2 separate regions of the Homo sapiens genome follow, and region 2 is linked to region 1. The links are contacts of gene promoters, found by promoter capture Hi-C in blood cells and fetal thymus (Javierre and others, 2016). All regions are on one chromosome and are shown on one strand. The core of a region is centred on a gene start or on the middle of the fragment in contact, and the rest is flanking DNA. Distances in the headings are between cores, read along the strand shown.

Evidence for each region. The method cuts DNA at HindIII sites, captures the fragments that hold promoters and counts their contacts. A CHiCAGO score of 5 or more calls a contact.
Region 2: a fragment that was not itself captured here is called in contact with the fragment with the promoter of KLHL38 in region 1 in 1 of 17 cell types (endothelial precursors); the score reaches 5.3 in endothelial precursors.

The regions. Positions count from the first base shown.
Region 1 is chr8:123,651,965-123,656,027 of GRCh38, forward strand. KLHL38 (kelch like family member 38) reads right to left here and starts at 1,837. Exons shown (of 4, transcript NM_001081675.3): 1 at 1,622-1,837; 2 at 1-963. The coding sequence starts at 962. The HindIII fragment of the contact is 6,101 bases long and covers 1-4,063 here.
Region 2 is chr8:124,444,531-124,448,593 of GRCh38, forward strand. No RefSeq gene overlaps it. Among named protein-coding and RNA genes, the nearest start is that of TYW2, 4.3 kb to the right of the region's middle. The HindIII fragment of the contact is 2,542 bases long and covers 816-3,357 here.

The DNA.
Region 1 (4,063 bases), core at 587-3,086:
CGTGTCGGGAGTTTGGCAAGGCTCTGCCATTGGCCGGTCTGTTTGCTGTACAGTAGGACGTCCCTGGTGGTCTGCTGGCTGTCCTTCCTTCCGCCCAAGAGGATGAGGAAATCTTGGTAAGAGTTTCTTGGAGGGACATGCAACAGGAGTTTGCAGTCTGGGACGGTGGTGCCACACAAAGAGAACATCTGTCTCTTGGCGGTCTCCAAGATGATCTGGCATGCAGGCGAGGACTGCAGGAGGGCATCGTTGGCGATGAAGTGGTGAAAGAAGGCTGGGTGGATGTACTGCAGCCTGACCTGCTTGAACAGTTCCTGCATGTATCGCTTCCGGGCCTGGAGGTCATGCTTGATCCAAACCATGAGGGCCTCAAACACCTTTTCCTCCTCCCCACAGAGCCCATCATCTCCGAGATAGTCCCTCAACTCCAAGGCACAGAGCTCCTTCAGGTCGGCCGATGCGGCCACCTCTGGGAAGGACGTCAGTGCCACCTCCCTGGCTTTCTTCTTGAGGGTCTCGCAGCTTAAGATTTCTGAGAGTCTGATCATACCCAGGCAGTTGCTGGGGGCCAACTGGCTCTGCAAGTACGAGGAGCAGGCCTCAAACAGCTTGGGGAACTGTAGCATGGAGGCGGCCTCCATCACGGGGAGGACATTGTCAGTGGCAATATGTGCCTCCCCCGTATACACGTAGGAGACGATCTGGTCCAGGGTTGGGGGGTCAATGCCTTTCAGCTGCACTTTGGCTTCACTCTTCTCCCGGAAGCTGCTGCAGAACATAGCCCTGAAGTAGGGGCTGCTGGAGGCCAGCACGTTGCGGTGGCAGGGGATCTCCCGGGCACCGGCACAGATGCTCACATCAGTCAGGATCCTGCTTTGCCTTAAGCTGTTGAGCTGCCTCAACAAGTCAGAAGAGAAGTCGTGGTCTTTGAAGAGCAGCCCATCTAGTGACTCCTCGTCCATCCTACAAAGAGGGAAGGAAGCCCCCAGAGTCAGCAAGAGTCAAACCTTTCTCAGCTGCATGTGCTGGAGGGTTCAGCTGTGGGGACTCCAAGACCAGTGCTCCTATTCCATTCCCCATGATGTTTGCGGATGTCACCATGGATATTGTGTAGGGAAGATTGGAAAGGAAGGCCACATACATCTCAGACCTGAGCCCTTTTGGGTTATGGTTATTTTCAAAAGTAATAGGCAAATAGTATCTTCAGCTAATCTGAGAGAAACAACCAAACAAACAAACTAAAGTTGTTGGAAGTTACTCTGTTATCAGAAGCTGAAATGTTAGTCTGAAGCAAGATAACAGTCCATGGATTTGACCAGCAGAAGTTCATGAGCCTTTTTCCAGATCGATGGCATATCTGTTATTGAGTAACAGATGTCTAAACCTCTCTTTCTGGGTGTCAATCATTCCCCAAGGATGATATTCTGGAGGTGTGGCCCTCTGGTCACTGGACAGAAATGAGGGAAGAAAATGGACCTTTGATGCATATATTTAAATATGACTTCATTGAGTCTTGTTTTAAAGATAGAATAAATAAAAGGAAAGACCAAACAATCCCCTGGTTTATTGGATGACACCTGGTTTTCTACTTGCAGAAGAAATAAGTATGAGGGACACTTACCTTGTTTTGCTGCGGTGACATCCACTGGTGCCTGGTCTGACTTATCCCCCCGGAGAGTTTCTACCTCTAGCTCCAAGGGAAACCATAAACCCCAGGCCTTTCTTTCAGTTGGCAAATGATTTGTCCTGGGAGATTTCTGGATTTGTTTATGCTGAAGGCACTTTCATAGTTTTCTAGAGCTTTGTGCAAGGACTGCTGGGCAGGGAGACAGTGTATACATTCCAGGGCTAAGAATAGTTGCATATGTACTTTCCACTGTTATGACATGTGACTTTCCAGTTGCCTTTTGCAGCAACCCGAGGGCCTGCAGGGCCGGCGCATGCCCACATGCCTCGTTTCCTTGGCAAGTGTTTACATCGGCAAAAATAGATCGGGAGGAGCGGCTTCTCTTAGAGAAGACTTTGCTGTCTGCTTGGAACCATCCCGAGTCCCCTGTCCTAAAAGTGCTTGGGAATTCTAGCCGTCTGTAAACAGGTTGCTGTGACCTGTGGAGAGTCACTGAAGATGGTTCTGGGCCACAGTGGAGGTGGCAGGTGGTCACAAGGGAAGCCGGAACATGAGCCTGTGGGTGCTATTCAATGGATCTCTATTTCCCACCATCTGCCTGGCGGGATCGCTGGGGAGAGCTGTGATTTCCTCCTCCAGGATCCTAGGTGATGAAATCCATGACAAAAGTTGTTGTTTTTTGTTGTTGTTGTTGTTGAGCATCCCAGGGTTTCCAGACTCCTGAAGGCCCAAACCTTTGTCAGGTCTCCTTACTCAGGAACCTCTGATTGACAGTGGTAAGGCCGAGCTCCTCCTGTCGCGTCTGCCTCTCCCAGACACGTGCTGATTGCTCTTCAGCTGGCTTTTTATAGTTCAGACTTCCTTTTCTGTCTTACTTTTCCATTTTGTCTTGTCTGGCAGCTTGAGCTAGAGGCAGGAGGCAAGGCATATTGCTTTAGGGAGAGAGAGAAAGAAGATGAAGGAGGATGAGGAGGAAGAAGAAGCAGGGACAGAGGGAGGGAGAGAGACGAGAGGAGGAAGAAGAGGAGGAGGAATAGGAGGAGGAGGAAAAGAAGCAGGAGGTAGAGAATCGGGGGAGGAATGATGATAGTGATGTGGTAGGAGGCAGCTTTCAATAACAATCAGAATCACGAGAGAGAGTGAGGGGGACCTCAGGTCTGTTCTGCCCCTGCCTTCAGGGAGGTCCATGATTGTCTTAGCCACAAAAGGCAGGGAAGCCTGACTTTGTCTCCTACTCAACGTCTTGCTCAACTAGTGCAATGGTCTTCCATGCATTTTTTTTTCTTTGCTCCTAGTACTTCTCTCTCCAATACATCCACCCTGTCTTCTCTGGAGCAGCCCCTGGGAAGGCAACTCAGAATTTGCCAGTCCCCAGCATCAGGCCCTTCAGTGGCTCCCCATGTCTGCAGGACTCCTTAGCCAGAATCGGACTGGTGTCCTGTCTGCTTCTGGAACCATGTCTACTGCCACTCATGTGTGGTAATCTAGCTCCATGAGACACTTACAGATCCTTGTATGCATCTGGTCACTGTTGGGGAAGCTGGGCTGGCCTGGCCTTTGGGACACCACAGGGCAGGGTGGAAGGAAGAGGGTTTCTCATTCACAGTTGCCGATCGTAGAGTGGATTATGCCCAAAAGAGTCCAGAAGGTCAAGGCCAGGGAAATGGATCCAAAACATGTTACTGGGGCCATGGGCCTGGAGGCCAGAATTAGGAGCAGGAGGCCTAAGCTAAGGGGGTCAGAGACCCATGGAGGCACAAGCAGGGAGCAGGTGAGAGGAGCTGTTCCTCCATATGTCCGAGTTGGTGAGCTGTGCTGGTGACATAATAAGTGAGTAGCCACATTCCTGAAAGAGCCCAGGGATCCTCTGATTCGTACTCTATCCCTTTCTATGAGCTCTTCCCCTCTGCTCACTCTATCATTTTCACTGTTTCTGTTCGTCTTCCAAAACTTGGTTTATGTATCACTTCTCTGCAAGTCTTTTTACCCCTCTCTAAGACACTTAACTTCACACTCCTCTGTGCAGTTTCCATTCTTCTACATGCCTCTAATGGCATGCCTCATACCTCACTGAGATTATGTTTACTTCCCTGTGTCTCTCTTATTAGAGTGGAAGTCTCTGGGCAGCAGGAATCTTGACTTCATTGTAGCTCTACTCCTAGCACCCAGCACAGGGCCTGGCTTATAGGGGGTGAATTTCATACACTTCCTGCATTGAGCTGGAACAGAATGGGGAATGGGGAAAGAGAGGGAGCTTTGCTGGGTGGACTTCACACCACTGTCTGCTGTGCCGGTTTTGCAGAGCTGCCATGTATGGCTTACTGCGTAGACTGCCCTGCAAATATGCTCTGGAGCAGCCCTGATTATCCACATAATCAAATCCAATAATGTGATGAAGTGAAAAGTAAAACACTTGTTTTATACTGCAGTGCAAGA
Region 2 (4,063 bases), core at 837-3,336, 790 kb after region 1:
TGTCCAGAATTGGGATATTAATCCAGATTTTTATGTTATTTATCTTTCTTGTTTCTTCTAAGCAGGAGCCAGATATCACTGGTTGGTTCACAGGAATAAGTGGAATCAGTCTCTTGTGTTCCAGCAGCCTGTGGGACTTCATAAGAAACAGACTTAATTCAAGATCAATGAGCCCAGCTGCTTCTTCCTTGAAGTGTAACTGCGGTTGAGGCACTAAGGAGTACTTACTTAGTAGGGTCCTTTCCACTGTGGGAAAGTTGATCTGCTAGGGACCATTTTTTCAAGTCATTAACAGGATCCCATTTCCTGGCTGGATTACAATAGGATTTTTTTCCTTAGTGAGGGAAGGAAGTCTCTCATTTCTGTATTCAAGAAGAGCTTTTTGCACCTGACCTAAGTTGGCAACATAATTCTGTAATTTGAAAGTATCTCCATCTACTAGGAAATCAGCAATTCTTTCAGAAAGGCTTTCCGTACATTATTTCAAAAGGGCTGAGCCTTCCACTGGGGCAGCCCAAACTTGCAGCGAGGCCACAGGCGATAGACGGAGCCAGGTTTCTGATGTTTCCTGTCAGAGCTTAGCAAGGGTCCTGTCTAAAATTTGATTGGTCCTTTCTACTTTTCCTGAAGACTGTGGCCTCCATGCGGAATGAAGACCATATTGAATTCCTAGAGCGGATGCTATGTCTTGGTTATTGTTGCTGTAAAGATGGGCCATTATCACTCTACAAGCTTTTAGGCAACCTGAATCTGGGAATCATATCCTTGAATGAAAATTTAGAAACCTTGATTGACTTTTCAGGCCAGATAGGAAAAGCTTCAATCCAACATGTAAAGAAAGGTATCAACCAACACTGATAAATATTGGAATCCTTTACATGGGGGCATTTGGGTATAGTGTGTTTGCCAATCTTCTTCTGGGTACGACCCCCTATGCTGAACAGGCTTTACTAATGGAGGAGGTAAAGTTTGGTTGTTTGAGGTTTTTTTGGGCACACAATTCACAGGCCCAAGTCACTTGTTTTACTGTTCTAAGAAAGTCTTTTCGGCCAGGCACGGTGGCTCACGCCTGTAATCCCAGCACTTTGGGAGGCTGAGGTGGGTGGATCACGAGGTCAGGAGTTCAAGACCAGCCTGGCCAACATGGTGAAACCCTGTCTTTACTAAAAATACAAAAATTAGCTGGGCATGGTGGCAGATGCCTGCAATCCCAGCTACTCGGGAGGCTGAGGCAGAGAATTGCTTGAACCCAGGAGGCAGAGGTTGCAGTGAGCTGAGATCACACCACTGCACTCCAGCCTGGGTGACAGAGCGAGACTCCGTCTCAAAAAAAAAAAGAAAGTCTTTCCCTATAAACAGATGAGCCATATTAATTGAAATGAGAAATCTCTTCCCAAATGAGTAGAGCCATGCCAATACTTAACTATTTTCCATTGATCAGCTCTTGGTACATATCATCTGTCATTTTCATCAATTAGCCATCTGGAAGTGCTTATAGTTAACCCATGGGTCTTAGCCCATTTTTGTTCTTTTCTAGTATTAACCATGCTCTAGTTTTATCGTCACCAAGGCAGTGGGCACCAACATGCCTACCAGATTAACTGGTTCCCTCAAATGAAGCTGCCTCAGCTGTAGCATCTGCAAAAGAATGCCCTTTTATTATTTTGGAGTTTTCTTTCTTTCTTTTCTTTTCTTTTTTTTCTTTTTTTTTTTTTTTTTGAGTCAGAGCCTTGCTCAAGTTGCCCAGGCTGGAGTGCAATGGCACGATCTCAGGCTCACTGCAACCTCTGCTGCCCAGGTTCAAGCAATTCTCCTGCCTTAGCCTCCCAGGTAGCTGGGATTACAGGCACGAGCCACCACGCCCAACTAATTTTTGTATTTTTAGTAGAGATGGGGTTTCACCCTGTTGGCAAGCCTGGTCTCGAACTCCTGACCTCATGATCCGCCCGCCTTAGCCCCTCAAAGTGCTGGGATTACAGGTGTGAGCCACAGTGCCTGGCATATTTTGGAGTTTTCTTTTTGATGTCCCTTGCAGTGAATCACAGCAACTTCCTTAGGCAGCAAGGAAGCATCTAGTAGATTTAAAATTCCCAAATAATGTTCTATAGGGGAGCCCTTAGAAGTTAAAGAGTCCCCATTATTTCCAAATAGCAGCATGAGCATGAAGCACCAGAAAGCCATACTTGGAGTTTGTGTACATGTTAATTCTTTTTTAAAATTATTATCCTTTTTTGAGACAGAGTCTCGCTCTGTCTCTAGCCTGGAGTGCAGTGGCATGACCTTGGCTTACTGCAAGCTCTGCCTCCTGGGTTCAAGTGATTCTCCTCCCTCAGCCTCCTGAGTAATTGGGACTACAGGTGTGCACCACCACGCCCAGGTAATTTTTGTATTTTTAGTACAAATGGGGTTTCACCATGTTGGCCAGGCTGTTCTGGAACTCCTGACCTCAAGTAATCCGCCTGCCTCAGCCTCCCAAAGTACTGGGATTACAGGTGTGAGCCACCACACCCAGCCCTAGTGGCCCGTCTTTTAAATCCTGCCAGCTGGAATAAATTTGTTCCATAGCTTGTGTACATGAATGATCTAGGGTGCCTTTGGATCCAAGTAGATACGTAGCTAGGATTAAGGTCTTCTGTTATACTTTAAGAGTTATATCAAGAGTATCTAGCAATAAAGCCTGATAATTTAATAACTATCCCCTACTCATCTATTGGTGCCCTTTAGCTTCTAGGGCCTCTGTTATTTGGTGTGGGGTCAAAACCTCCAGATGTTGTCCCAAAGTTAATTTATTGTCTTCATCTATGAGAAGAGCAGTTGTTGCAACTGCCCTGAAACATCTGAGTCATCCTGAAGCCACATGGTCAATTGGTTAGAAAAATATGCCATGGGTCAAGGGATGTATCCCTGTTTCTAGACAAGAACATTTAGGGCTGTCCCTTGTTTCTCAGCCACATAAAGGAAGAAAGTAAAGCCTGTCCCTAAACCCACGGGGAAGAATTGTCCAAGTTAACACAGAAACCAAAAGATTATTAGGTAATCAAAAGTAAAGACCACAATAGGGGACTCAGCAAAAGAAATGTTTCACTAGAGAAGGGAAATGACAAAGTTCTAGAAAGGAATGTCCAAGTTCAGGCCAGTAGCGGCAAGCAGGACAAGATTTACATGGCCTTGCCATTTGTAACCAAAAAGTAAAAGTCATTCCATTAGCAAGGAGATGAAAAAGAACTGCTGAAAAGCAATCTCCAGTTTTCCATCCTGGAGCAGTTCACCTAGGGGGGACTGGTATAATTGCTGCCAGGCTTAATCTTTCACATTGGACCTTTTCATTTAAAACTTGTAAATGCGAAATTCCAAGTAAGCTTTGCAAAAAAGGAGAGACAATAAACAATTCATTTAAGTGGTCTAGATCTAGGGAAAGTAAATATTACAGAGCCATTTGTCCCCAATGTCTTCTAGCAACATGCCAGAACAACAGGCAAATGGCCCATAACCCAAAGGCAAACAAGAAAAAGGAAAGTTAAAAACCTCAGGACCAGTTCAACAAGATCTCTCTCATAAAGTAGCAGTAAAGCATAGAAAGCAATCAGGAAACTGGCAAGTGGCAGCCTTTGGAAAGCTCTTACAGAGAGCACAAGGAGGACGAATCCACAGTGAATAATGGTTAACATCCCATTGTGCTAAACCCATTTTCAGCTGTGAGGGGCCTTTAATCCTCCCAAGTAGGCCTCAAACCCAATCTTAGATAAGTGTCCTTGTCCTTCATCGGTATAAAAATGTATTCCCCTTCTTACCCAAAGTCAGTCAGTTGGTCCTGCGCAGTCTATTTCTTTTGGGTTGAAGGTCTCACCTCAATAAAGTCCTTGGGAGTTGCCACAGGAAATGTTACTTAAAAGGAATTTTGTTCCAGACCCAAAAAACAGGTTCTTGGATCTCAGACAGGAAAGAATTTAGGGCCAGTCACAGAGCACAGTGAAAGAAGCAAGTTTATTAAAGACTACTCTATTACAGAGTAGGGTGTTCTCAGAAGGCGAGAGGAGGACCCCACACCAAAAATTATGTAGCT